Linked DNA regions of Homo sapiens: regions 1, 2, 4 and 5 are each linked to region 3. Evidence: promoter capture Hi-C in 16 types of primary human blood cells and fetal thymus (Javierre and others, 2016). All regions are on one chromosome and are shown on one strand. The core of a region is centred on a gene start or on the middle of the fragment in contact, and the rest is flanking DNA. Distances in the headings are between cores, read along the strand shown.

Region 1 (5,414 bases), core at 419-2,918, 910 kb after region 3:
AGTCAGTCATTCCCCATGCTGCCCCCTTAGGCTAGAGATGCCCTACCGCCCTCAGGCCTCGCTGAATGTGCCATTGTACTTGAAGGCACCTGTTACTTTTTTAATTTTTTTATTTTTTTGAGACGGAATTTCTCTCTTGTCGCCCGGGCTGGAGTGCAATGGCACGATCTCGGCTCACTGCAACCTCTGCCTCCCGGGTTCAAGCAATTCTCCTGTCTCAGTCTCCTGAGTGGCTGGGATTACAAGTGCCCGCCACCACGCCCGGCCAATTTTTGTATTTTTTAGTAGAGACGGGGTTTCAGGCTGGTCCTGAACTGACCTCAGGTGATCCGCCCACCTCAGCCTCCCAAAATGCTGGGATTACAGGCGTGAGCCCCCACGCGGGGCTGGCACCTGTTACAATTGAATACAACGCGAGAGAGAAGATGATAATTACCTTGCCACCTGGGGCCACTTTAAAGGCTTACCTGGGGTGTTCTGGTGTCTACAGCTGCTGGGCTGACACGTATTGCCTAGTGCAGTGGTCTCCAAACTGCACATTGGAACCATCTGGAAATCTTTGGCTCCCATCCCCAGACCCTTTTTTATTTTTTTGATGGAGTCTCCCTCTGTCGCCCAGGCTGGAGTGCAGTGGTGCAATCTTGGCTCGCTGCAACCTCCACCTCCCTGGTTCAAGCGATTCTCCTGCCTCAGCCTCCTGAGTAGCTGGGATTACAGGCACCCACCACCATGCCCGGCTAATTTTTGTATTTTTAGTAGGGACAGGGTTTCGCCATGTTGGCCAGGCTGGTCTCGAACTCCTGGCCTCAGGTGATCCACCCGCCGCAGCCTCCCAGAGTGCTGGGATTACAGGCGTGAGCCACCGCGCCCAGACGCATCCCCAGACCTTCTGATTTAATTGCTGCAGAGTATGATCGGCTGCCCAGGTGATTCTCATGTTCAGCAACGTTTCGGAACCAATGAACTGTGTTTCCCAAGTTTACCTGATCATGGAAGACTCATCTGAGGAATTGTTTAAAAGTAACAGATCCCCCCGTCTTTGGGGTGAGGTTTGGAATCTTAACACTGCCCAAGGGAAGCCCAAGCAGGTTTGGCTTCCAATATCTGTCAGCAGCAGCAGTAGATACAGACAGTATTCAAGAGGATGGCTTTCCAGGTGCAGACTCAACATCAGAACCACCTGGCCCACACCCAGATTTGGACTCATTGGCTCACACCTGTAGTCCCAGTGCTTTGGGAAGCCAAGGTGGGAGGATTGCTTGAGGCCAGGAGCTCAAGACCAGCCTGGACACAAGACCAGCCTGGACAACATAGCGAGACCCCATCTCTAAGAGAAAAATAAAGTTTAAAATGGTAAATTGTACTGATGGAGCAGTGCAAAAAAAAGAATTTTTTTTTTTTTTTTTTCTGAACACGGTGGCTCATGCCTATAATCTCAGCACTTTGGGAGGCCGAGGCGGGTGGATCACCTGAGGTCAGGAGTTCGAGACCAGCCTGGCCAACATGGTAAAACCCCGTCTCTACTAAAAGTACAAAAAATTAGCCAGGCCTAGTGGCTAATGCCTGTAATCCCGGCTACATGGGAGGCTGAGGCAGGAGAATCGTTTGAATCCAGGAGGCGGAGGTTGCAGTGAGCCCAGATTGCGCCACTGCACTCCAGCCTGGGCAACAAGAGCAAAACTCCATCTCAAATATATATATATATATATATATATATATATATATTTTTTTTTTTTTTTTGGAGACTCACTGCTAGCCAGTTAACTGAACTCACATCCCTGGTTGGACCTGAAGCATTTGGGGGCAGGAGCTCCCCTGCAGCTTTTTGCTTTTGGCGTTTGCTGCTAGTGGGAGGATCAGTGCACATCTACCTTAGGGTACCTGTAAAATTACAACTGCGGAAAATATCCATAGTGGTGTTGCACTGTATGGTAGCCACTAGTAACTTGCACCTGTTGAACACTTAACCGTTCCTACTCTACACTGAGATGTGCTATAACCTTAAAATACACACTGGATTTCAAAGACATAGTACAGAAAAAGAGGCTGGGCACAGTGGCTCATGCCTGAAATCACAGTACTTTGGGAGGCTGAGGTGGGAAGATCGCTTGAGCTCAAGAGTTTGAGACAAACCTGGGCAACATAGCGAGACCTTGCCTCTACAAAAAAATACAAAAATTAGCCTGGCATGGTGGCACACGCCTATAGGCCTACCTATTTGGGAGGTTGAGGCAGAAGGACTGCTTGAACCTGGGAGGTTGAGGCCACAGAGAGCTGTGATCACACCACCCTCCAGCCTGGGCAACAGAGCAAGACACTGTCTCAAAAAAACAAAGAGTACCACTATCACATGAAAACATTTTTTATTGATGACATGTTAAAATATTTTGGATATATTGGGTTACACAGAATATATCATTACAATTAATTTTTCCTGTCTCTTTTTTCTTTTTTTCTTTTTAAACGGCGCCTTGCTTTGTCACCCAGACTGGAGTGCAATGCACTGCAACCTCTGCCTCCCAGGCTCAAGTGATTCTACCATCTCAGCCTCTGGAATTATGGGACTACAGGTGCACACCACCATGACTGGCTAATTATTGTGTTTTTGTTTGTTTGTTTGTACAGATGAGAAATCTCATCTCTACAATCATGAGGTTTCCATGTTGCCCAGGCTGGTCTCGAACTCCTGAGCTCTAGCAATCTGTCTGCCTCGGCCTCCCAAAGTGCTGGGATTACAGGCATGAGCCACCGTGCCCAGCCCTTTCTATTTCTTTTTACTTTTTGACATGGCTACTAGAAACTTTTAAATTACAGGGTCTTGCCCTGTGGTAGCTCACGCCTGTAATCCCAATACTTTGGGAGGCTGAGGCAAGTGGATCCCTTGAGCTTAGGAATTTTGAGACCAGCCTGGGCAACGTAGTGAAACCCCATCTCTACCAAAAATACGAAAAATTAGCTTGGCATAGTGGCGCACACCTGTGGACCCAGCTACTTGGGAGGCTGAGGTGGGAGGATTGCTGTAGCCTGGGAGGCGGAGGTTGCAGTGAGCCAAGATTGTGCCACTGCACTTCAGCCTGGGCGACAGAGCGAGAGCCTGTCTCAAAAAAAAAAATATGTGGCTCGCGTTATGTTTTTATGGGACAGCGCAGCTCTGTAGGATTCCTTATGACGCATTCACTATCTCGGTCATGAGAATCTTTAAAGCAGTAAATGCTTTGCTTTTGTCCGTCTTGCTATAATCAAAACTGACTCAGGACCTGCATTAAGGCTCTTTTTTTTTTTAACCTCATCTCTTAACTTTTTGATGCAACTCATCTTAGTGAAATTGTGGTCTCCTCCTACAGCAACCCTCCCTCAAAAAAAGACCGAACACGCAATTCTCATCTATCTAACTCTGTTAACAATCATATGAGGAGGAAATAATCACATGATAATGAGTGGCATGAAACCCTGTGTCTCTAAATTAAGCAACTCACTGTACTTGATGAGTACATCAGTCTTCCTGCCCCAAGCTTTTGTGTGTCAGACTGGAATTAAATGGAAGCTTACACTGCAGCTGAATTCCTAGAAGCCCTGGACTTGTCAGGGGAAAAGCCCATGGGGGGAAAGCCCATCTCTAGGCTGGGCAATGAACTTGGAGACTGCTCGATCACACACACTCATAAGTAACAAAACCATTAATTTCTTTTCTTTTTTTTGGTGGAGGGACAGAGTCTCACTCTTGCCCAGGCTGGAGTGCAGTGGCATGATCTCAGCCCACTGCAATCTCCACCTCCCGGGTTCAAGTGATTCTCCTGCCTCAGCCTCCCGAGTATGTGGGACTACAGGCACCCACCACCACACCCAGCTAATTTTGTGTATTTTTAGTAGAGTCGGGGTTTCACAATGTTGGCCAGGCTGGTCTTGGACTCCTGACCTCAACAAAACCAGTGAATTTCTGAAGTCTCAGCATCTAGGACTTAGAAGAAGGAGAAGCCTAGCATTTCCTGATTCTATAAATAACAACACTGATAGTCTCTAGTAGATGTTTAACAGCAGTTCGAAGGGGAGGGGTTCTGATTTGTAGTACTGGCCAATTTCCACGGTGTCAGTACTTGCTCTGTGACCAACGATGACTCACAAACATTGTTGTAAACATTTGACCTACATTAATTCTTTTACCCTCACAAGAATCCTGTGAAGATCTACTATCATTCCCAGATTATAGATGGGAAAAACTGAGGCACAATGAGGTTAAGCACCTTGGCCAAAGTTATGCCTCGTGAATGGTGGAGCTGAGCCATGAACCAAGACCTCTGCCTCCAGTCTGTCCTAACCCCTATAAGCTAATGCCTGTAGATGGTTTTTTTTTTTTTTTTTTTTTTGAGACAGAGCCTTGCCCTGTCGCCCAGGCTGGAGTGCGGTGGCATCACAGCTCACTGCAGCCTCCGTCTCCCAGGCTCAAGTGATCCTCCCACCTCAGCCTCCCAAATAGCCGGGATTTTTATTGGACAGCACAGCTCTGTAGGATTCCTTATGACGTATTCACTGTCTCAGTCACGAGAATCTTTAAAGCAGTAAATGCTTTGCTTTTGTCCATCTTGCTATAATCAAAACTGACCATGCCCGGCTAATTTTTTATTTTTTGTAGAGATCCCTATGTTGCCCAGGCTTGTCTCGAGCTCTTGGGCACAAATGATCTTCCCCCCTTGACCTCCCAAAGTTCTGGGATTACAGGCGTGAGCCACTGTACCCAGCCCCTTTGGATTTTTAATTGTTCAAACTGGTAGTCATAGTCCCACTTCAGAGGAGAGAACCATATATGTGACCAGAATTCTTGGGGGAAAAGTAAGAAACTACTCTTAAAAGTTCCTTAAAGGGTAGAATTCTCTTTTCTAGAAAGAGTAGCCTAGGGTTGTCCAATCTTTTGGCTTTCGTGGGCCACACTGGAAGGAGAAATTATCTTGGGCCACACATTAAATATGCTAACACTAACAATAGCTGATGAGCTAAAAAACAAACTTTTTTTGATCACACAAAAAAAAATCTCATAACGTTTTAAGAAAGTTTACGAATTTGTGTTGGGCCTCATTCAAAGCCATCCTGGGCCGCATGCGGCCTGTGTGCTATGGGTTAGACAAGCTTAGAGTAGAGCATAGTGGGTGAGAGAAGAGGCTTCAGATGCTTCTGGCTTGAGTTCAAATCCTGACTCTGCCACTCACTAGCTGTGTGACCTTTGGCAAGTGACTTAACCTCTCTGTGTTTCCATTTCCTCCTCTGTAAAATGGAAATAATAATAATGATACCTGTCTCATAAAGTGGTCAGGATTAAATGAGTTAATACATATAAAGAGCTTAGATCAGTGCCTGGTGCCTATAAACACTCCAGTGGTAACTGTTATAATTTGTATTATCTCTTGGTGATTCCCATAGGT
Region 2 (5,441 bases), core at 1,161-3,660, 760 kb after region 3:
CTAACAAAATCAGTCAGCGCCATTTTATTTTTTTACTTTTTTTTTTTTTTTTTGAGATCGAGTCTCACTCTGTCACCCAGGCTGGAGTGGCGTGATCTCAGCTCACTGCAAGCTCTGCCTCCCGGGTTCACACCATTCTCCTGCCTCAGCCTCCCGAGTAGCTGGGATTACAGGCGCCTGCCACCACACCTGACTAAGTTTTTTTTTGTATTTTTATAGTAGAGACGGGGTTTCACCATGTTAGCCAGGATGGTCTCGATCTCCTGACCTCGTGTTCCGCCTGCCTTGGCCTCCCAAAGTACCGAGATTACAGGCGTGAGCCACCGCGCCCGGCCAGTCAGTGCCATTTTAGAAGGAAAATATAGATGATCTTGATGACTTTAGGGGTTAAGTGGGGCTGGTTAAAGAGGAAACAAAAGGCATAAATTTTATTTTAATTTCTTTAAAAATTTTTTTTAAATAATATATAAAAAAGTTTAAAATTTTAAATAATTGAGATGAGGTCTTGCAATGTTGCCCAGGCTGGCCTTGAACTCCTGGGTTCAAGTGATCCTCCCCACTCAGCGTCCCAAAGTGCTGGGATTACAGGTGTGAGCCACTGTGCCTGGCCAAAAGGCATAAATTTTATACAAACCTGCTACCCATAGTCCACTTGATTCCCTGGCACTTAGAGAGCTGGATCCCAAATCATCATCATCATCATCATCATCATCATCATCATCATCCAGATTTGTAGAATAGTTTACTGCTTAAGAGCACTTTTCTATGCTTTATCCCATTTATTGTTCATTAGAAACCGGTTTTAGAGAGGAAGAGACCGATGCTCAGAGAGACAAAATAACTCATCCCTTACCTATCCCACAGCCCCACAGTCCCACAGGGCAGAGCTGGGATTTGAACCCCGGGGGTTCCTGAGTGCTCACCTTTGCCATCTTCAGCACCCTGACTTCCTGGTCCAGAATCAGCTCATTATAGAAGAACTGATCCCTCAAGAACTGCTCAGTTCAATGCCCGGCATCCTTCACTTCATCCTTCCAGTCTCCCTGGGGCTGGAGGCTGTTTTACGAAGGCAGACTGGAAGGATGTTTTATGAAGACATCCAGCCTGTCCCCAGGGGTGTCATACAGGTCCTGGAAGCCTGCCATCTCTGTGGGACCAGGAATGAATCGTCTCTGCTTCTGCCCAGCCCTGTAAGGGGCAACTCCCAGCCTTTGTCCAGTAGGCCACAGAACTGCAGAAGGGCAGGGAGATGGTGTGGGTTAGAGAGAGAGTTAGCTGCCCTTTTTCTTTCTTTTTTTTTTTTTTTTTGATACAGAGTCTTGCTCTGTCACCCATGGCGTGATCTCAGCTCACCGCAACCTCTGCCTCCCGGGTTCAAGGGATTCTCCCACCTCAGCCTCCTGTGTAGCTGGGATTACAGGCACCTGACACCACGCCCGGCTAATTTTTGGTATTTTTGGTATTTTTAGTAGAAACGGGGTTTCACCATGTTGGCCAGGCTGGTCTCAAACTCCTGACCTCAGGTGATCTGCCCGCCTTGGGCTCCCAAAGTGCTGGGATTACAGGCGTGAGCCACCGACGGAAGAATCACTAAGCTTACTTTCCTCTTTTTAGGGTGCAGAGAGGGCTAGGGGGCCCTCCAGGCATCAGCTGAGCCTCCCTCTGCTGGGCTGCCTTAGTTCAGCAGCCATCTCTCCTGCCGGCTGAGAATGGAAACTGAAACTGAACTTTGTTTTGTTTGTTTGGGTTTTTTTGTTTTGTTTTGTTTTGTTTTAATTGGAAACAGAAAATTTGCTGAGCTTTGAAAGAGGAATTTTCTCTTTCCATTTGAGGTTGCCAGGAAAAAAGGCTGGAGATGGAGCCAAGTGCCCCTTGGGCTTCCTTGAGAGGAAGGTTCTCAGGCTGGGAGTTTCCCAGGGTGTCCTGGAGCTGGGCTGCCCCCACCTCTCCATCCCCTATTTCCTGCTGCAGGAGCAGACCTTGTCTCCCTACGGGAACTCAGTAGTGTCTGCCCCGGAATCAGAAGGTGCTGGCTCCTTGGGGTGAGGGGATGGGGGCTTGGGCTGAGCCCCGGGAGTCCTGGGGCCTGGGATTGACTCTTTATTTTCTAAAAGCAAAGACATACTCACCCCTTTACTACTTGTTTTGTTGCGTATATTTAGGTCTCCCCTATCCCCTCACCAATAATCCACAGGAAGGAGGTAATCTTTTAAAAAATTGTCTTTAGGGGGCGCTGTTCTCTCAAGAACTTCATTTTGAAGAGCAAACTGACAGTTTGTGGTAGACACATTGGCTTTTAAAGATCTCAACTAGCGACCAGGCGCGGTGGCTCTCGCCTGTAATCCAGCACTTTGGGAGGCCGAGGCGGGAGGATCGCTTGAGGCCAGGAGTTTGAGACCAGCCTGGCTAACATGATGAAACCTCGTCTCTACTAAAAATACAAAAAAATTAGCCAGGCGTGGTGGCAGGCGCCTGTAATCCCAGCTACTTGGGAGGCTGAGGCAGGAAAATCACTTGACCCCAGAGGCGGAGGTTGCAGTGAGCCGAGATGGCATCACTGCACTCCAGCCAGACTGTCTCAAAAAAAAAAAAAAAAAAAAAAAAAAAAAAAAAAAAGGAAAGAAAGTAAATCCCACATTGATACTGTGGAGGCCATAAGTATGCACCTATAGGATGCATTTTAAAAATGCCCTAACAACGCATAAATATGTCACTGAGGTTTGTTAAGAATGTCCAGATTTCCAGCCTGGGCAGCATAGTAAAACTCCATCTCTACAAAATATACAAAAAAATTAGCCGGGCATGTGGCATGTGCCCGTAGCTACTAGGGAGGCTGAAGTGGGAGGATCACCTGAGCCTGGGAAGTCGAGGCTGCAGTGAGCTGTGATCAAACCACTGCACTCCAGCCTGGGCAACAGAATGAGACCCTGTCTAAAAAAAATTAAAAATAAAAATGTCCAGATTCATGACAGCCTGTCTCTCACTCTGCTTAACAGAGTAAAAAATACTGAGCCCTGAAACACAGGCTTAGAAGATTCAAAAATTGCCTTGGAGAGGGAAAACCACTAAGTGGGAGATGCCTGTGAAGAGCTTGAGTTACAAAATCTTTTTGAAAACTGAAAGTGGAAAAGAGTAATATTTGTATATTACCCCATAACATATACAAATGTATAGCTGTATCTAAATAAATTAACGAAATATTGGAAGTGCATATTTGATTTCCCTTAAGCTTATGTAATTAGGGCTATGCCAACATATTTTTATTTTTCATTTATTTTTATGTTTTTCCCCATTGATCCATGTGATTCTCAAACACATTTTTATTTTCTCCCTGGCAAATATTTGTTATTAGTCCATTGGAAAAATTGATTGGATTTGGGGATCACCTTGCATTAGGGCATTTTTGGTATATGTACTCATATTTTAAAAACTGTGAATTCCAATATATATTCTTAATAGGAAACTGCGACATTTTTGTCAATTTTCCTCTCTTCCACAAGATGATGCTCCACACCCACCTAAAACAATCACCATTTGTAGTTCCTAGGATCCTAGTACAGAAGAGACAGAGGGGATCTGCTTAATCCTTGTTTTTCAGAAGGCAGACAGGAGCCCAGAGTGTTTACCAGGGCTCTTTGACATTATGGTATTGATATTAACTCCAATAGCTATACTTATCAAGCACTTCGTGTATACCAGGCTCTCTACACAGTTTATTTTATTCTTTATTTTTTTTGAGATGGGATCTGGCTCTGTCACCCAGGCTGGAGTGCGTGGCATGATCTGGGCTCACTGCAACCTCACCTCCCAGGCTCAAGTGATTCTCCCACCTCAGCCTCCTGAGTAGCTGAGACTACAAGTATGCATCACTGAGCCTGGCTAATTTTTGTACTTTTTTTTTTTGTAGAGATGGGGTTTTGCTATGCTGCCCAGGCTGGTCTCAAACTCCTGGGCTCCAGTGATCCGCCTGCCTTGACCTCCCAAAGTGCTGGGATTAGAGTCGCGAGCCTCCACACCCAGCCTCTTTTCACAGTTTAGTTCCCATAATCCCCACAAGACTCTGTGATGCAGGTTCACACCATGTTACATTATGAAGAAATCGAGTCTCAGCAAGATGATGTGGCCTGCCCAGAGTCACACACCAAAGAAGTGGACAAGCTGTGATTCAAACCCAGGTTCTCTGATTCTAAATGCCAGAGGTTTACCCACGACATTATCTTACTGCCCAAGGCACTTATTATTTATTGAGCTCCTACTACGTGCTGGGCACTGGGCGAGGCTTGGAGAATACATAAATGAATAAGGCAGCCCCATTCTACGGGCAGTTTGTTATGTGTCTTCTCTACTGGGAATCTTCAGCGTGAGAAGCACGTGGTCCCAGGGTCTAGCACATTTCTTGGCACACAATGGGGCCTCAGTTAATGTTGGCTGAATAAATGAATGAATGACACCATGTTTCCTAGGAAGCAAAAGCACTTCAATCTTGTGACTATTTTTTAGTCCATAAAACGGATAGATGGTGGAGGACAGAGAACTTCCTGGTGACCTTCTGCTTGCTTCGTCAAGGCATCTATCAAGGGTCCCCATCTTTGAGTATGGTGGCTCAACCACAGTGGACCATCCCAAAGGTCCTCTCTGGTTCTGCATTGCAGACACTCTGTGCATGGTGGTGCGGGACCTCCTTCCTGGAGGTGCTTGCTTCTTCATTTACCCCAGTGTTTCTTAACATTTTGAAGTCTTGTGAGCACCAGAGAAAATGATGAATGCAAGGGGCCCTCCCTCTAAAAAACATGTTAATGCTAATATTTTGCATGCAATTTCAGGGGCTTCCTGGACCCCAAGTTAAGAATCTCTGCTATGGGGCCGGACACGATGGCTCATGTCTGTAATCCCAGCACTTTGGGAGGTTGAGGCGGGTGGATCACTTGAGGTCAGGAGTTTGAGACCAGCCTGGCCAATATGGTGAAACCCCATCTCTACTAAAAATACAAAAGAATTAGTCAGGCGTGGTGGTGGGCGCCTGTAATCCAAGCTGCTCGGGAGGCTGAGGCAGGAGAATCGCTTGAACTGGGGAGGCAGAGGTTGCGGTGAGCCAAGATCGTGCCACTGCACTTCAGCCTGGGCGTCAGACTCTGTCTCAAAAAAATAAAAAAAGAATCTCTGGGCCGGGCGCGGTGGCTCACGCCTGTAATCCCAGCACTTTGGGAGGCCGAGGCGGGTGGATCATGAGGTCAGGAGATCGAGACCATCCTGGTTAACAAGGTGAAACCCCGTCTCTACTAAAAATACAAAAAATTAGCCGGGCGCGGTGGCGGGCGCCTGTAGTCCCAGCTACTCGGGAGGCTGAGGCAGGAGAATGGCGTGAACCCGGGAAGCGGAGCTTGCAGTGAGCCGAGATTGCGCCACTGCAGTCCGCAGTCCGGCCTGGGCGACAGAGCGAG
Region 3 (5,542 bases), core at 1,607-4,106:
TCACTTCAGCCGGGAAGGCAGAGGCTTCAGTGAGTGAAGATCGCGCCACTGCACTCCAGCCTGGGCAACAGAGCTAGACTCTCTCAAAAAAAAAAAAAAAAAATTAAAGTTAGTTTTACTTACAAGTCTTACTGAGGATTACAGACCGAGGGCTATAGTGTGGGAGCAGTTCCATCAGACTGGTCCAACACAGAATTTCAGCCACTCATATACAAGTGGTGAGTGTACGGCGCCTGCAAAATCACATTAAACTTGCTTCAAAGTTACATTAAAGCACAATCATATCAAAGTTTGGGTGCAAGAGTATATCTGGTTATGGATTACAGAGGTATCATCACTAACCCCATCAGACATTATCTTGTGCAGGAAAAGGCAATGACCAGAGTCATTTATCTTTTAATGAATATAGTGACTTGGAAGAGACATGGAGGGCTGTGTGCTCTATTCTGTTTTGTCTTCAAAGCATCTTTCTGGAGAGCTGTATGTTGTCACAGAGTCAGGGGCTTCATGAAACGATGCTGCCAAGTCGAAATAAGCAGGCCCGGCATGGTGGCTCACACCTGTAATCCCAGCACTTTGGGAGGCCAAAGCAAGAGCTTTCCTTGAGTTCAGGAGTTTGAGACCAGCCTGAGCAACATAGTGAGACCGTGTCTCGACAAAAATAAAAAATAACAAAATTTAGCTGGGCGTGGTGGTGGATGCCTGTGATCTCAGCTACTCGAGAGGATGAGGTTGGAGGATCCCTTGGGCCTGGGAAGTAGAAACTGCAGTGAGCTGTGATGTCACAACTGCACTCCAGCCTGGGTGACAGAACGAGACCCTGTCTCAAAAAAAAGAAAAAAAAAAAGCAGAAATGGGCAAACTACTAAATGGTCATTTTGCCAATATTACCTCCAAAGATACAATGATAGAACCAAAAACCTAAAAACTCTTTCTCAAGCTTCCACATTACTTCTCTGCACTTCAGTTCATCTTTATTTATTATTATTATTTTTTGAAGAGATGGGATCTCACTTTGTCACCCAGGCTGAAGTGCAGTCGCACAATTATGGCTCACTGCAGCCTCGATCTCCTGGGCTCAAAGTGATCCTCCCACCTGAGCCTCTTGAGTAGCTGGGACTACAGGCACACACCACCACACCCCGCTAATTTTGTTTATTTTTTGTAGTGAGTGGGTCTCACTATGTTGCCCAAGCTGGTCTTGAACTTTTGGGCTCAAGTGATCCTCCTGCCTTGGCCTCCCAAAGTGTTGGTATTACAGGTGGGAACCACTGCACTCAGCCCAATTCATCTTAAAATGGGGGAAGGGAGTCCTTAGGTGGTCTTCAAGGTCCCTGCTGGCCGCCCACCTTTATGTCCAAAGACACTTATACATTTATTGATTTAGGTGATGCTGCAGAGCGGCAGTTCTGGTTGTCTACACATTAGGAACAATTAGGAAATTTGTAGATCAGAATCCCTGGGAGTGAGACGCAGGCCTTGTTTGATTAACTTAATAAAAAAAATATGATAAATAAAATTGGAGAAGCCAAGCAGGTTAAGTACATTAGTCCAGGTATAATATATTTGGCTTCATATTAACTGTAAAAACATCACTTTTGGCTGGGCACAGTGGCTTACGCCTGTAATCCCAGTACTTTGGGAGGCTAGGGTGGGCAGATCACGAGGTCAGGAGATCAAGACCATCCTGGCTAACATGGTGAAACCTTGTCTCTACTAAAAATAAAAAAATTAACCGGGCGTAGTGGCATGCGCCCATAATCCCTGCTACTCAGGAGGCTGAGGCAGGAGAATTGCTTGAACCCGGGAGGCGGAGGTTGCAGTGAGCCGAAATGGCACCATTGCACTCCAGCCTGGGCAACAGAGCGAGACTCCGTCTCAAAAACAAACAAACAAACAACAACAACAACAACAACAAACTATCACTTTTTCAGATATGTATAAACACATTTCTTCACAAGTTCAAGGTATTTTACCAATAGCAAATAACTTGATACTGTCGTTGTGAATGAAAAGGATCACAAACTCTGATGTTTAGAATGAGTCAAATCTAGGCCGGGAACAGTGGCTCAGGCCTGTAATCCCAGCATTTTGGGGGGCCGAGGTTGGCGGATCACCTGAGGTCGGGAGTTCGAGACCAGCCTGGCCAACATGGTGAAACTCTGTCTCTACTAAAAATACAAAAACTTTAAAAAAAAGTCAAATCTAGATCCATGATTAATGACGTGCTCATTTCACATTGCATGTTTGTATCAAAACATCTCATGTGGGTAAAGCATAGACAGGCACAGAGAAAAGAAAAAAAGACAAAAAATAAGAGAAAAGATGGCCGGGCGCAGTGGCTCACGCCTATAATCCCAGCACTTTGGGAGGTCAAGGCGTGCGGATCACCTGAGGTTAGGAGTTCAAGACGAGCCTGGCCAACATGGCGAAACCCCCGTCTCTACTAAAAATACAAAAATAATCCCAGCTACTCGGGAGGCTGAGGCAGGAGAATCGGTTGAACCCGGGAGAGGGAGGTTGCAGTGAGCCGAGATCGTGCCACTGCACTCCAGACTGGAGTTTTTTCAAAAAAAAAAAACAACAACTCCGTCTTAAAAAAAAAAAAGAAAAAAGAAAAAAAATCTTATGTACACTATAAATATATACACCTACTAAGTGCCCACAGAAATTGAAAACAAAGAAAAAAATCCATGATTAAAAGCTTTTATATTAACGGGGGAACCTCTGACCAGAAAGAGCCGACAGGGGGCGTTCCTGGATGATCTGGGGCTGTCAATTGCGAGACGCGGAGGATTGTGGGACTTGTGGTTTTTCTCGCATCATTTAAGCTTTCTGGACTACATGTCCCAAAATGCAAATGCAATCAGACGGTCCCACTGTGGGGTGTGAAGTGTCCGTAGAGCTGTGAGAGGTAAGTGTGTTCTGTGTGTGCTGCGGATTTCTAGAAGTTGTGGATTTCTTGTGAGGGATTCTATTTCTCCTCTTTGCCCTCGGTGGGACCTGGAAGAGAGTAGTTGTTCCACTGATGCACGTTTTCAGCGGGGGTTTCCCCTGACCCTTTGGTCTCGGGAAACCGGACTGTGTGTTTGTTCAGCTGTTCACGTTTTGCTGTGGAATGTCAAGGAGAAAGCGGGGTCCTGATCTCAGATCTGGAAAGCCAAACATAAAATAATGTTTACATACGGGGTGCATGTCACTAGAGGATTTATGCATTGCATTGTGTCAAATAATATGTCAAAGTTTTTTCTTTTTCTTTTTTTTTTTTTTTTTGATACGGAGTCTTGCTTCTTCGCCCAGGCTGGAGTGCAACGGCGCGATCTCGGCTCACTGCAACCTCCGCCTCCCGGGTTCAAGCAATTCTCCTGCCTCAGCCTCCCTAGTAGCTGGGATTACGGGCACGTGCCACAATGCCCGGCTAATTTTTTTTGTATTTTTAGTAGAGTCGGGGTTTCACCATGTTGGCCAGGCATGTCTCGAACTCCTGATCTCAAGTGATCTGCCTGCGTCGGCCTCCCAAAGTGCTGGGATTTCAGACGTGAGCCACCGCACCCGGCCCTCTATTGTTACAGCTAGAAAAGCTGACGGGCAGGGGTCTTGTCTCTCTGATGTGTCCAAGTAGCAGAGCTTGCAGTGGAGGGTAAACTAAAATAAGGGGGAAATGAAAAAATAAAAGGAATGCGTGTGTGTGCTTAATTACATGAACAAAATCAAACAAAACCTGACTCATTAGGGCCAGACTCAGAGGCTCACACCTGTAATTCCAGCACGTTGGGAGGCCGAGGCGGGCAGATCACTAGAGCTCAGGAGTTCGAGACTAGCCTGGCCAACATGGTGAAACCCTGCCTCTACTAAAAATACAATAATTAGCCGGGCATGGTGGCCATGTAGTCCCAGCTATTCTGGAGGCTGAGGCAGGAGAATCACTTGAACCCGGGAGGCGGCGGTTACAGTGAGCCAAGATCATGCCACTGTACTCTAGCCTGGGCAACAGAGGGAGACTCTGTCTCAAAAAACAAAACGAAAACAAACAAACAAAAAATGAGAAAAAAAAAAAACCACCCCAGTTTCTCACATGAGGCTTCTTTTTCTCTAGAATGAAGATGAGCTTTGCGTTGACTTTCAGGTCAGCAAAAGGCCGTTGGATCGCAAACCCCAGCCAGCCGTGCTCGAAAGCCTCCATTGGGTTATTTGTGCCAGCAAGTCCTCCTCTGGACCCTGAGAAGGTCAAAGAGTTACAGCGCTTCATCACCCTTTCCAAGAGACTCCTTGTGATGACTGGGGCAGGAATCTCCACCGAATCGGGGATACCAGACTACAGGTCAGAAAAAGTGGGGCTTTATGCCCGCACTGACCGCAGGCCCATCCAGCATGGTGATTTTGTCCGGAGTGCCCCAATCCGCCAGCGGTACTGGGCGAGAAACTTCGTAGGCTGGCCTCAATTCTCCTCCCACCAGCCTAACCCTGCACACTGGGCTTTGAGCACCTGGGAGAAACTCGGAAAGCTGTACTGGTTGGTGACCCAAAATGTGGATGCTTTGCACACCAAGGCGGGGAGTCGGCGCCTGACAGAGCTCCACGGATGCATGGACAGGTGCAGGAGCTGTACACGGTTTGAACGCAAACCCGTGTGTTGTTTTGGGAGAGTAGGGACCTTGGCTGTCTTGATCACCACAGTCTTAGACCTTGAGAAAAGGATTTCAGAGCAAGTTGTTTATTTTGCAGTTGATTCCAGTAAATTCATTGACGGAGCAAGGATGTAAAACAGGAAAGAGAGGAAAGCCAAGAAAGTGTGTGTTAATGAGTGGGTTACTGCCTTGGGCACTGGGGTTCAGTCCTGTGAGGGACCCTCCAACTGTCTAGGACATGCCTGAGGATTGTCTCAATGAAACTTGAGGACTGGGGCCGGGCGCAGTGGCTCACGCCTGTAATCCCAGCATTTTGGGAGGCTGAGGTGGGCAGATCACATGAGCTCAGGAGTTCGAGACCAGCCTGGCCAACATGGTGAAACCCCATTTCTACTAAAAATACAAAAATTAGCCAGTCGTGGTGGCACATGCCTGTAATCCCAGCTGCTTGGGAGGCTGAGGCAGGAAAATCTCTTGGGAGGCAGAGGTTGCTGCAGTGAGCCGAGATTGCACCACTACACTCCAGCCTGGGCAACAGTGCAAAAAAAAAGAAAAAAAGAAAAAAAAAAGTTGAGGATGGTGCACAGTGGCTCATACCTGTAATCCTAGCACTTTGGAAGGCTGAGGCAGGAAGATTGCTTGAGGCTAACAGTTCAGGACCAACCTGGCAAACACAGTGAGACTCTGTCTCTATATAAGTAAAGTAAATTTTATATATATATATATATATATATATATATATATTTTTTTTTTTTTTTTTTTTTTTTAAAGAAAGTTGAGGCCGGGTGTGGTGGCTCACGCCTGTAATCCCAGCACTTTGGGAGGCCAAGGCAGGCAGATTACCTGAGGTCAGGAGTTCAAGACCAATCTGGTCAACATGGTGAAACCCCGTCTCTACTAAAAATACAAAAATC
Region 4 (4,752 bases), core at 2,253-4,752, 820 kb after region 3:
GCCGGGCGTGGTGGCATGCACCTTTAGTCCCAGCTACTCGGGAGGCTGAGGCAGGAGAATCACTTGCATCCAGCAGGTGGAGGTTGCAGTGAGCTGAGATCGCACCGCTGCATTCCAGCCTGGACAACAGAGAGAGACTCCATCTAAAAAGAAAAAAAAAAGAAAAAAAAATTCTCGTAGCCAAGGAGGACGCATTAATTGTGCTCAGGAATAATTGCCACATCAGATACAAAGTGAGAAGCCACGTTATGAAGGGACACAAAGATGCTAGATTAGCCAAGACTCTTGGTCAAAAGTGATATGTATGCCTGCTCCAATTGGCTTAAGCAATAAAGGGAGGTTATTGGCTCCTAAATCTAGTGAGGTTTCAGGTATGGCTTGATCAGTGTGTTCAAATGATGTCATCAGAAATCCCTCCATCATTACCCTCTGCCTCTGGTTTTCTCTGAGTCAACTTAATTCCCTGCTGGCATGACGGCCACCAAGAGCTTTAGGCTTATGTCCTGCCAGCTTAGCAACTCCAACTCAAAGAGCACCACTTTTTCAATGATTTTAGCCAAAATTCCAAGACTTGTCTCAGACCAACCTGAATCATGTGCCTGCTCTTGAACAAAGCACAGTAGCCAGGGAAAAATTGTGCTTTGATTATCTAGGACTGGATCCTGGACCTGCCCCTGGGACTTGCGGAAGGGGACAGCTCAATCTGAGCCATATCAACTGAGAACACAGGAAGCATGGTCCTACCAAGAGATGTCTATTCCAGGTATGGTGGAGCCTCAGAGGACAGCATGACTCTCGTTCAGCTGGTGGATCAGGGAATGGTCCAATAAGCCACAGCTGTGGATATGAAGGTCTGTTGATTTCAGATTGAGCTATAGGGGGATACTGGGCATGGCAGAAAAATCTATCAATCTCTGCTATAGTTAAATATTTGAATATTGGATTGTTTGCAGATCTTGTGAAATCAGTGACCTCTGGGTCATGTAGAAACCCAGCACATTCCCACAGGACACAGCCTAGCAGTTGATCAGAGCAGTAGTTCATACCTGAGACCCTGGATTTTCAGACCCTCCCCCAGGCCCCACCAGCCTCTGTCAGTGCCAAGCTGGACGGAACAAACCACATGAGGTTGGTCAGGCCTCTACCCCATGGAAAAACACAGAATGGTGATTTTTTGCCTGTACATTCCTGGACAAATAAATTCTCTTTTGGGAGCTTTTTCCTGGCTGGGCTATGTTATATGCCTCAGAGCTGCCCAGATCCCCTGGAAACCCAAAGATTTCCTTCCATGTGTAGGACTCATTCAGCCCCAGCTCAGAGGACTGTTTCATGGGTACTGGTGGCAGGAATTCTTGGTTGTCTTCAATGTCTGGCTCCCTGATTTTCGGTAGGGAACATGGTCAGCAGAATGAGGATGGCATTTCCTACCTTCTACTGCAGGTAGGTGTGACCATGTGACTACGCTCTGGCCAATGACCTGCAAGTGGCAGTGACAGATCCCATCCTTCAAGGGAGGAACATGCCTTCTCTTTCTCCTTTCCTCTTTCTTCCAGGCTTTTAATTTTTTATTGATTTATTGATTTTGAAAAATGGAGTCTTGCTCTGTCACCCAGGCTGGAGTGTAGTAGTGCAATCTCCGCTCATTGCAACCTCCACCTCCTGGGTTCAAGCAATTCTCCTGCTTCAGCTTCCCAAATAGCTGGGATTATAGGCACGTGCCACCACGCCCAGCTAATTTTTTGTATTTTTAGTAAAGATGAGGTTTCACCATGTTGGCCAGGCTGGTCTCGAACTCCTGACCTCAGGTGATCCACCTGCCTCAGCCTCCTAAAGTGCTTCCAGCCTTTTTAGAATTCAGTTCTGGTGGGAACCATTTTGGATCATGCTGATGAAGGTAACACCATAGAGATGGCAGAGCTGGGGTTGGGTCTGGTGACTCACGCTTGTAATCTTACCACTCTGGGAGGCCGAGGTGGGAGGATTGCTTGAGCCCAGGAGTTTGAGACCAGCCTGGGCAACATAGTGAAACCTCATCTCTACAAATAAACTCTTGGCTAAAGCAATCCTCCCACCTCAGGCTCCCAAGTAGCTAGGCTACAAGCACACACCACCATGCCTAATTAAAAAAAATTTTTTTTTGTAGAGACAGGGTCTCGCTATGTTGCCCAGGCTGGTCTTGAACTCTTGGCCTCAAGTGATCCTCCTGCCTTGGCCTCCCAAATTGCTGGGATTACAGGCATGAGCCGCTACACATGGCTCATATTCTCAATAGAGCAGTCCCAATTGGCCACTGACCAGCCAATAGTCTTGCTCTCCTGGGCAGATGTTCACCCTGGTCCAATAAGCCACAGCTATGGATATGAAGGTCTGTGATCTCAAATTGAGCTAGAGGGGGAAGATGGGCATGGCAGAAAAATCTATCAATCTCTGCTACAATTAAATATCTGAGGTCAGACATGGTGGTTCACGCCTAGAAACCTAGCACTTTGGGAGGCTGAGGTGGGTGGATCACGAGGTCAGGAGTTCAAGACCAGCCTGAACAAGATGGTGAAACCCTGTCTCTACTAAAAATACAAAAATTAGCTGGGCATGGTGGCAGGCACCTGTAATCCCAGCTACTCGGGAGGCTGAGGCAGAGAATTGCTTGAACCCAGGAGATGGAGGTTGCAGTGAGCCGAAATCGTGCCATTGCACTCCAGCCTGAGCGACAGAGCGAGATTCTGTCTCAAAAAAAAAAAAAATTGAATATTGGATTATTGAAACTTGGCATAGAGCAGCCACTGTCCTTGTCTTCTAAGAGCTTATATCATATTATTATTTTATTATTATTAATAACATATCATTATTAATTAATAGCTGCAGTTCACTGAACAGTATTAGATACCAGGCATGGTGCTTGTAATTAGTCATCTCATTGAATTCCCTTAATGAAAATTAGGTAGTCAGAGACCTTTCTTCATGGATCGCAACCCCAGGGGCATGTGGGATTTCAGAGATGTGTTTTGGGGAAAGAGGTATAATTATTCAACTTTCAGTTAATTAGCCACTTAGAGAAATTAAGTGGTAGGTGGAGTTGTAAAGGAAGGCAAAGTACTGGGCAGGCAGATGCTAAGTGGGCGACTGTTCTAGGCATAAGAGAAATGGGGGTGGGTATGAAAAAAAGCAAGAGAAAGAGAGAGAGAGAGAGAGAGACAAGGGAAATTTGGTTTGACTGGATAAAAAGGCCAGTGAAAAGAGGGAGTTTTGGTAAGAGCTATGCCATGGGCAGGGAGAAGTACAGAGATCTTCAATCATGGACTCTATCGCCATCCCCTCTTCTCTTCCTGCAGGTGGGCAGAACCAAGGTGCCCTCCCTACACCTTCCTGGGGCCTCCAGCGATCCTGAGCTCAGCCTCCTGACCTGCAGACCCCTCAGCTCTGGCCCTCACGTCCTGCTTGCTGTACCTGCTTTATCCCATATCACCATCTCCATTCCTCAGCATAGTGACAATCCCAGTTCCTACCCATTCCACTGGCTTCTCCATTTGGCTTGGAGCTCTTTAGCTGGATTGAGACGACTACTCTGATGAGTGCCATGTCACTGGCTCAACAAAATGGGCCCAAGTGAGTCAATGTCATTGACATGAAGGTGCTGTCAGTTTGGTGGGAACCAAGGGAATGAGACTGTGTTTTAGCTGCGTTCGTTTGAACAGTTACACACTTAGGGCTTCTTATGCGGATGCTCAGAGAGAAATATGGAAGACGAGATCTCGTAGAAAACAAGAAGACATGTTGTAAATGAGTCAGGCCTCCTGGAGTCCAGGACTAGGGAGGAACTCTTTATTGAGGATCACTCGAGGGAGTCTTGGGGCTGGTGGTCTTCACGCCACAGCCCCATAACTCAGCTCCTCTCTTCCTTCTCTCAGTCTCTCTGCTTCTGTTTTTTGTCTCATGTCCTAAATGTCCAACTATTCAGCATAACTTTATTCTGCTTCCCCTCTCTATCCTCTGTAGCAAAATGCACTGTTGGAATTACATTTTTATTTTTATTTTTATTTTTATTTTTTTAAGACGGAGTCTCACTCATTGCCTAGGCTGGAATGCAGCGGTGTGATCTCGGCTCACTGCAACCTCCACCTCCAAGGTTCAAGTGATCCCCTTGCCTCAGCCTCCTGAGTAGCTGGAACTACAGATGCCTAACACCATGCCCAGTTAATTTTTATATTTTTAGTAGAGATGGGATTTCACCATGTTGGCCAAGGTGGTCTCGAACCCCTGACCTCAGATGATCTGTCTGCCTTGGCCTCCCAAAATGCTGGGATTACAGGCATGAGCCAATGTGCCCAGCTGGAATTAAATTAATAATTTTTATTTCTGCTTTAGCGAGAGAGGCGGTGACTCACTGATACAAGGAAGATATTTCCCCTTCCAAGGGTGATGTATTCAGCTTTTGGGTTTAAAAGGAGATGCTATCAGGCACGCGTGGCTATCCTGGCAGATTACATAAAAATACAGAAGAAATGTTCTTTGTGTTAAAAGAATAAAAAAGAAAAAACAAAACGTGTTTCCTCAAAAACTTAAATACAGAATTACCACATGACCCAGCAATTCTACTACTGGCTATATCCCCCCAAAGAATTGAAGGCAGGAACATGAATAGGAATTTGTAGAACCATGTTTATACCAGCATTATCCACAGTAGCCAAAAAGTGGAAAGAAACTAAATGTTCATCTACGGATTAACAGACAAACAAAATGTGGAATATCTGTACA
Region 5 (4,905 bases), core at 174-2,673, 720 kb after region 3:
TAGTTCCCAGGTTTTGATTCCATGTCATTTATTCTAGTAATTTCCCAGTCCAGCTGGGCCTAAGAAACACCTTAGAGAGCTGGTTAAACTGCAGACTTTTGGGTCTCACAGAAAATACTAACAGAATCAGAATCTCTGATAGGTGGAATCCAGGAATCTGTATTTCCTTTAATAGCCTAGGGCCTTACTACTTAAGAGTGTAGTCCATGAGCCAGCAGCATTGGTAACACCTGGGAGCTCGTTAGAAATGCAGAATCCAGGCTGGGCACGGTGGCTCACGCCTGTAATCCCAACACTTTGGGGGGCTGAGGCAGGCAGATCACAAGGTCAGGAGTTCGAGACCAGCCTGGCCAACATAGTGAAACCCCATCTCTACTAAAAATACAAAAATTAGCTGGGCATGGTGGCACGCACCTGTAGTCCCAGCTACTCAGGAGGCTGAGGCAGGAAAATCACTTGAACCTGGGAGGTGGAGGTTGAGGTGAGCCAAGATCGTGCCACTGCACTCCAGCCTGGGCAACAGACTGAGACTCTGTCTCGAAAAAAAAAAAAGAGAAATGCAGAATCCTGTCCGGGCACGGTGGCTCACATCTGTAATCCCAACACTTTGTGAGGCCGAGGCGGGCAGATCATGAGGTCAGGAGTTCGAGACTAGCCTGACCAACATGGTGAAACCCCATCTCTACTAAAAATACAAAAATTAGCCAGGCAATACTGACTCCCAGGACCCATCCAAGACCAAAAAATTAGAATCTCTGTGGTTAAAATACCTCACAGTGAAGGATGAACAAAATCACTTTACTTTTGTGTGTGGAATGCTGTTTCATGTTTTATCTTTGAAGACAGGTATGTCAAAACTTTACTAAAATAAACTCTCTGGCCTTGAGCTTTTTCTATTTCAAAGAAGAGGAAGGTGACTGATATGGTCTGAATGTGTTCCTCCAAAATTCATATGTTAAAATTGACACCATAAAATAAATAACAGAGAGACTGACTCTCCAAAATAAAGCGTTTATTCCAGAATTGCAAGGAATTGCAATTTGAGATATGCATGCTATAGTGGACTATAGGCACATTAAAAGAGGTTGTGGCAACGAGAAAAGACAAAGTCCACATAAGCTTCTTTAAAACAAGTACCGTTGATCACAGGAGCCTGTTGCAGGAGTTGGCTTTAGCTTATTGTGGAGACACCCACTGTTAGGCAAATATTCTTATGCAAGTGGTTTATCTATAATACTGCGGATTTTAGGAACTTCTTGAGATAATTTTTGTGACAGGCATTTGTTAGGGTTTGACATAAGTGACTCCATTTTGATACTGATAATTTCCAAAAAGTCCTTACTCCCAAGGTGATGGTATTAGGAGGTGGGACCTCTGGGAAGTAATTAGTGAAAGGGTCTTGTGTTGGTTCGAACCCCAAGAGCGTGGCCAACAGACAACATGAGGCAGTGTGTGTGCAGGTGGGCTGAGGCTTAAAATGGCGTCAGCACCAAATGAGGACGGGGCAGGGGTTTTGTAGTCTCCTGTAAACAGGAAGTTTCTCAGTCTGTTGTAACCGCTACATTGTACCCGGATGACGTCTCTCTCGGTCTTCAGGGGGTAGGTGTCTTCTGGCCCGCTCTCTTCCCGCTTCTGCTATCTTGCTGACACATGCTGCTGGCGCGAGTGGCCTTGCGCCTTGGGACCGGGCCCAAGGAGGGAGGGGAGGGAGGGGTCATTCATTCTCTTAAGCTTTCAGGCCCCACGGAGAATCTTTCAATTACATAATGGGTCCTGAGCCCTCATGAACTGGATCAATGCCTTCATAAAAGAGACCCCAGAGGCCAGGCATGGTGGCTCACAACTGTAATCCCAGCACTGTGGGAGGCCAAGACAGGTGGATCACAAGGTCAGGAGTTCGAGACTAGCCTGGCCAAGATGGTGAAACCCCGTCTCTACTAAAAATAAAAAAAAAATTAGCTGGGCACAGTGGTAGGTGCCTGTAGTCCCAGCTACTCGGGAGGCTGAGGCAGGAGAATCGCTTGAACCTCGGAGGCAGAGGTTGCAGGGAGCTGAGATCATGCCAATGCACTCTAGCCTGGGTGACAGAGCGAGACTCCATCTCAAAAAAAAAAAAAAAAAAAAAAAGAAGCGATCCTAGAGACACCTTTGCCTCTTCTACCATGTGAAGACTTAGTGAGAAGCTGCCATCTGTGAATCAGGAAGAGGTCCTCACCAGACACCAAATCTGCCAGTGTCTTGACTTGGACTTCCCAGCCTCCAGAGCTGTAAGAAATAAATGGTTATTGTTCATGAGCCATCCAGTGTATGGTATTTTGTTTTAGCAGCCCAGATGGACTAAGACATTGCATTTTTCATTCTTTTTTTTATTTTAAACAAGAATTTTCCCACCACCTACAATGTGGGCTGTGCTGGGCATTATGAAGGACACAAAGATGGGGACTGGAACAGCCTGTCTACCTCCTGGAAAGGAGGCACTTTTTCTGTCCCTGAAGGCAAACAGAGGTGGGAGATACACAGATTATGATTGCTAAATTGACCAGAGGCTGTTGATAACCAATTGCAGTGTGCATTTTCTATGCTATGGTAGGAGAGTAGCCCACCAGAAAACTAGGCAAAACAGGGGGGCAAAAGGAAACTTTTTATTGCTTGGAGTAAACCTGATCACATGACGTCCTTTGATAATAAAGATGCTATTACTTTCCTACAGTTTCCTGACTATTATGTACTGTTTGTGTATGGGTTTTAGGAGTTGAGGTGATTTTTTTTTACACTGCATCATCCTCAATCTCCCATTCTTTGTCTCTTTTTGCCTCAGTTTCCCCAGTCCTCATTTCTTAGAGTTGAGAAGCTCAAATGATCAAGCAATAACCATTAGGACAGCATTAGGCCCTGTGGAAATAAACAGCCCCCAAATGAGAACTAACAAAGGCGATTTATTCCCAACTTGCTATAGCAAAGGAACCAGCCACCCATCTCTCGCTTTTGACAGAGATTTAAAGACAGGCAGGAAAATGGGAAGGCTTCAGGGATGCCGTGATTGAGGCTGTTGGTATGGGGAAGCTGGAAGTGCACTCACCAGAAGTGGGGCTAACCATGTGATTGGTCTGGGGAGCTTATTTGGGTTTCTTGGGTTGGTCATAAATAGGAAGCAGGATGGGAGTAGGGTGGGGAGTTAGAGATGCTGCCAGTTATCGCCCAAGTCCTGATGGTTTGGGGTTGATTGCTGCAGAAGGCTGTGGGTCCGAATTCTGTTGCTGTGCGTCATGTGACCACACTATTTATTTGTATATTTAGTCCTCACACCCCTCCTCATCCTCCCCCTGGCAGGGCTGGGATAATCCTTTTTTTAAACGGATTTACTTATTTTTATGTTTTAGTTTTTAGACACAGGGTCTTGCTCTGTGGCCTGGGCAGGAGTGTAGCGGTGTGATCACAGCTCACTGCAGCTTCAGCCTCCTGGGCTCAAGTGATTCTTCTGCCTCAGCTTCTTGAGTGCCTGAGACTACAAATGTGCACAACCACACCCAGTGAATTATTTTTTTATTTTGTAGAGACGGGGTCTCCCTGTGATACCCAGGCTGGTCTTGAACTCCTCGGCTCAAGCGCTCCTCCCACCTCGGCCTCCCAAAGTTCTGGGATTACAGGTGTGAGCTACCACGTCTGGCCTGGGATAACTCATTGTAAAACTGGTGAAGACCTGGGACCTTCCCAGTAGACAATGGGACAGAGTGATTGACAGGATGAGTTCTGGAGTACATGGCAGAAATGTACAGAGAAGTCTCCCAGAGAAAACTAACTGGCTGGAAACAGAGCCTCTCCTTTCTTCTTCGAGAGGATGAGAGTGTCACTGTCTTGGATGCCATAGATCCCCAGACCCAACCAGTCCTGCAGGACTTGGCCTTGGAATTCCAGCTGCTGCTGCTTTTTAGGAAGCCCCTGCTGGTCTTCAATCTGCTGCTTCAGACCCAGGATGAAGCTGTTGGGGTTGATGGCATAGGCGTAGCTCCCACCATCAGGATTCTTCACGAAGACCTGGATCTCGGAGGGGATGGTCTCCAGCAGATAGATGTGAGTGTGGGAGAAGATCCCATATTTGGCTAAGGAGCACCTGCTGCTGAGAAGCTGCCTCTCACTGCCAGGAACCTGGAAGGACAGACGCTGCAGGCCAGAGTAGCCCCTGGTCCTCCGGATTTTCTCTTTAACCTTCCTTATGGGCTCATAAGGGTTCACGATGAGGTTGAAATCTGGGTAACCCCTCTGCTCCACTGTCAAGTGGATGTCTCGTGCCCTCTGGAAGGGAGAGGGAGAAGGAGAGGTGTTAAGTCCACACTTCTTTGTCTGATGTGCAAATGTTCCCTTCATCTGTCCTTATCTTTACAATAGTAGCAGCAGCAGCGGCAGCAGCAAATGTTTAGGGAGTGGTAAGCACTTTCCAGGCTGTATGCTGAGCACCTTCCATACCCTTAATGCATTTTATTCTCAGAGCATCTCTATTAGTTGGTTGGTTCTACTGTTACCCCCATGTTATTGATGAGGAAACTGAGCAGGGTTAGGTAATTTACTGAACACCAATCACATAGGTAGTAAGGAGCAGGGCAGATATGTGAAGTGAGGTTGGTCAGACTCCAGAGTCTGTGTTCTCACCACCTCCAGAGGCTACACTCCAGGGCCTGAGAGCCCCAGGTGGCTGGAGAGCACCTGGAAAATGCTGGCGAGGGTCAGGCCTCTAGCTGATTCTTTCCAGAAGAAATATAAGCCTTGGCTGGGTGCAGTGGCTCACGCCTGTATTCCCAGCACTTTGGGAGGCCAAGGCGGGCAGATCACTTGAGGTCAGGAGTTTGAGACCAGCCTGGCCAACATGGCAAAACCTATCTCTACCAAAAAATGCAAAAATTAGCCGGG

What was found. Contacts are between HindIII fragments. The CHiCAGO score rates a contact against its expected background, and 5 or more counts as called.
Region 1: a fragment that was not itself captured here is called in contact with the fragment with the promoter of SIRT4 in region 3 in 1 of 17 cell types (total B cells); the score reaches 5.4 in total B cells.
Region 2: a contact is called between a fragment that was not itself captured here and the fragment with the promoter of SIRT4 in region 3, in 5 of 17 cell types (naive B cells, fetal thymus, naive CD4 T cells and 2 more). The highest score is 7.3, in naive B cells.
Region 4: a fragment that was not itself captured here is called in contact with the fragment with the promoter of SIRT4 in region 3 in 1 of 17 cell types (naive B cells); the score reaches 7.6 in naive B cells.
Region 5: a contact is called between a fragment that was not itself captured here and the fragment with the promoter of SIRT4 in region 3, in 3 of 17 cell types (total B cells, fetal thymus and non-activated CD4 T cells). The highest score is 6.6, in total B cells.

What each region holds. Positions count from the first base shown.
Region 1 is chr12:121,211,101-121,216,514 of GRCh38, forward strand. The region is part of intron 1 of P2RX4 (purinergic receptor P2X 4); the gene reads left to right. Among named protein-coding and RNA genes, the nearest start is that of P2RX4, 3.7 kb to the left of the region's middle. The HindIII fragment of the contact is 3,683 bases long and covers 1-3,510 here.
Region 2 is chr12:121,058,526-121,063,966 of GRCh38, forward strand. It overlaps LOC105378258 (a long non-coding RNA gene), which reads right to left. Exons shown (of 4, transcript XR_007063492.1): 4 at 765-1,231. It also overlaps the pseudogene OASL2P. Among named protein-coding and RNA genes, the nearest start is that of OASL, 22 kb to the left of the region's middle. RefSeq lists enhancers at 1,477-1,566, 1,687-1,856, 1,877-2,056. The HindIII fragment of the contact is 1,634 bases long and covers 1,594-3,227 here.
Region 3 is chr12:120,299,465-120,305,006 of GRCh38, forward strand. SIRT4 (sirtuin 4) reads left to right here and starts at 2,857. Exons shown (of 4, transcript NM_012240.3): 1 at 2,857-2,914; 2 at 4,097-4,594. The coding sequence starts at 4,098. The HindIII fragment of the contact is 5,713 bases long and covers 2,830-5,542 here.
Region 4 is chr12:121,116,120-121,120,871 of GRCh38, forward strand. LOC105370030 (a long non-coding RNA gene) reads left to right here. Exons shown (of 3, transcript XR_007063494.1): 2 at 654-763; 3 at 3,330-3,587. Among named protein-coding and RNA genes, the nearest start is that of P2RX7, 14 kb to the right of the region's middle. The HindIII fragment of the contact is 9,656 bases long and covers 1-4,752 here.
Region 5 is chr12:121,016,766-121,021,670 of GRCh38, forward strand. It overlaps OASL (2'-5'-oligoadenylate synthetase like), which reads right to left. Exons shown (of 6, transcript NM_003733.4): 6 at 2,346-4,293. The coding sequence ends at 3,796. Among named protein-coding and RNA genes, the nearest start is that of C12orf43, 2.7 kb to the left of the region's middle. The HindIII fragment of the contact is 612 bases long and covers 1,118-1,729 here.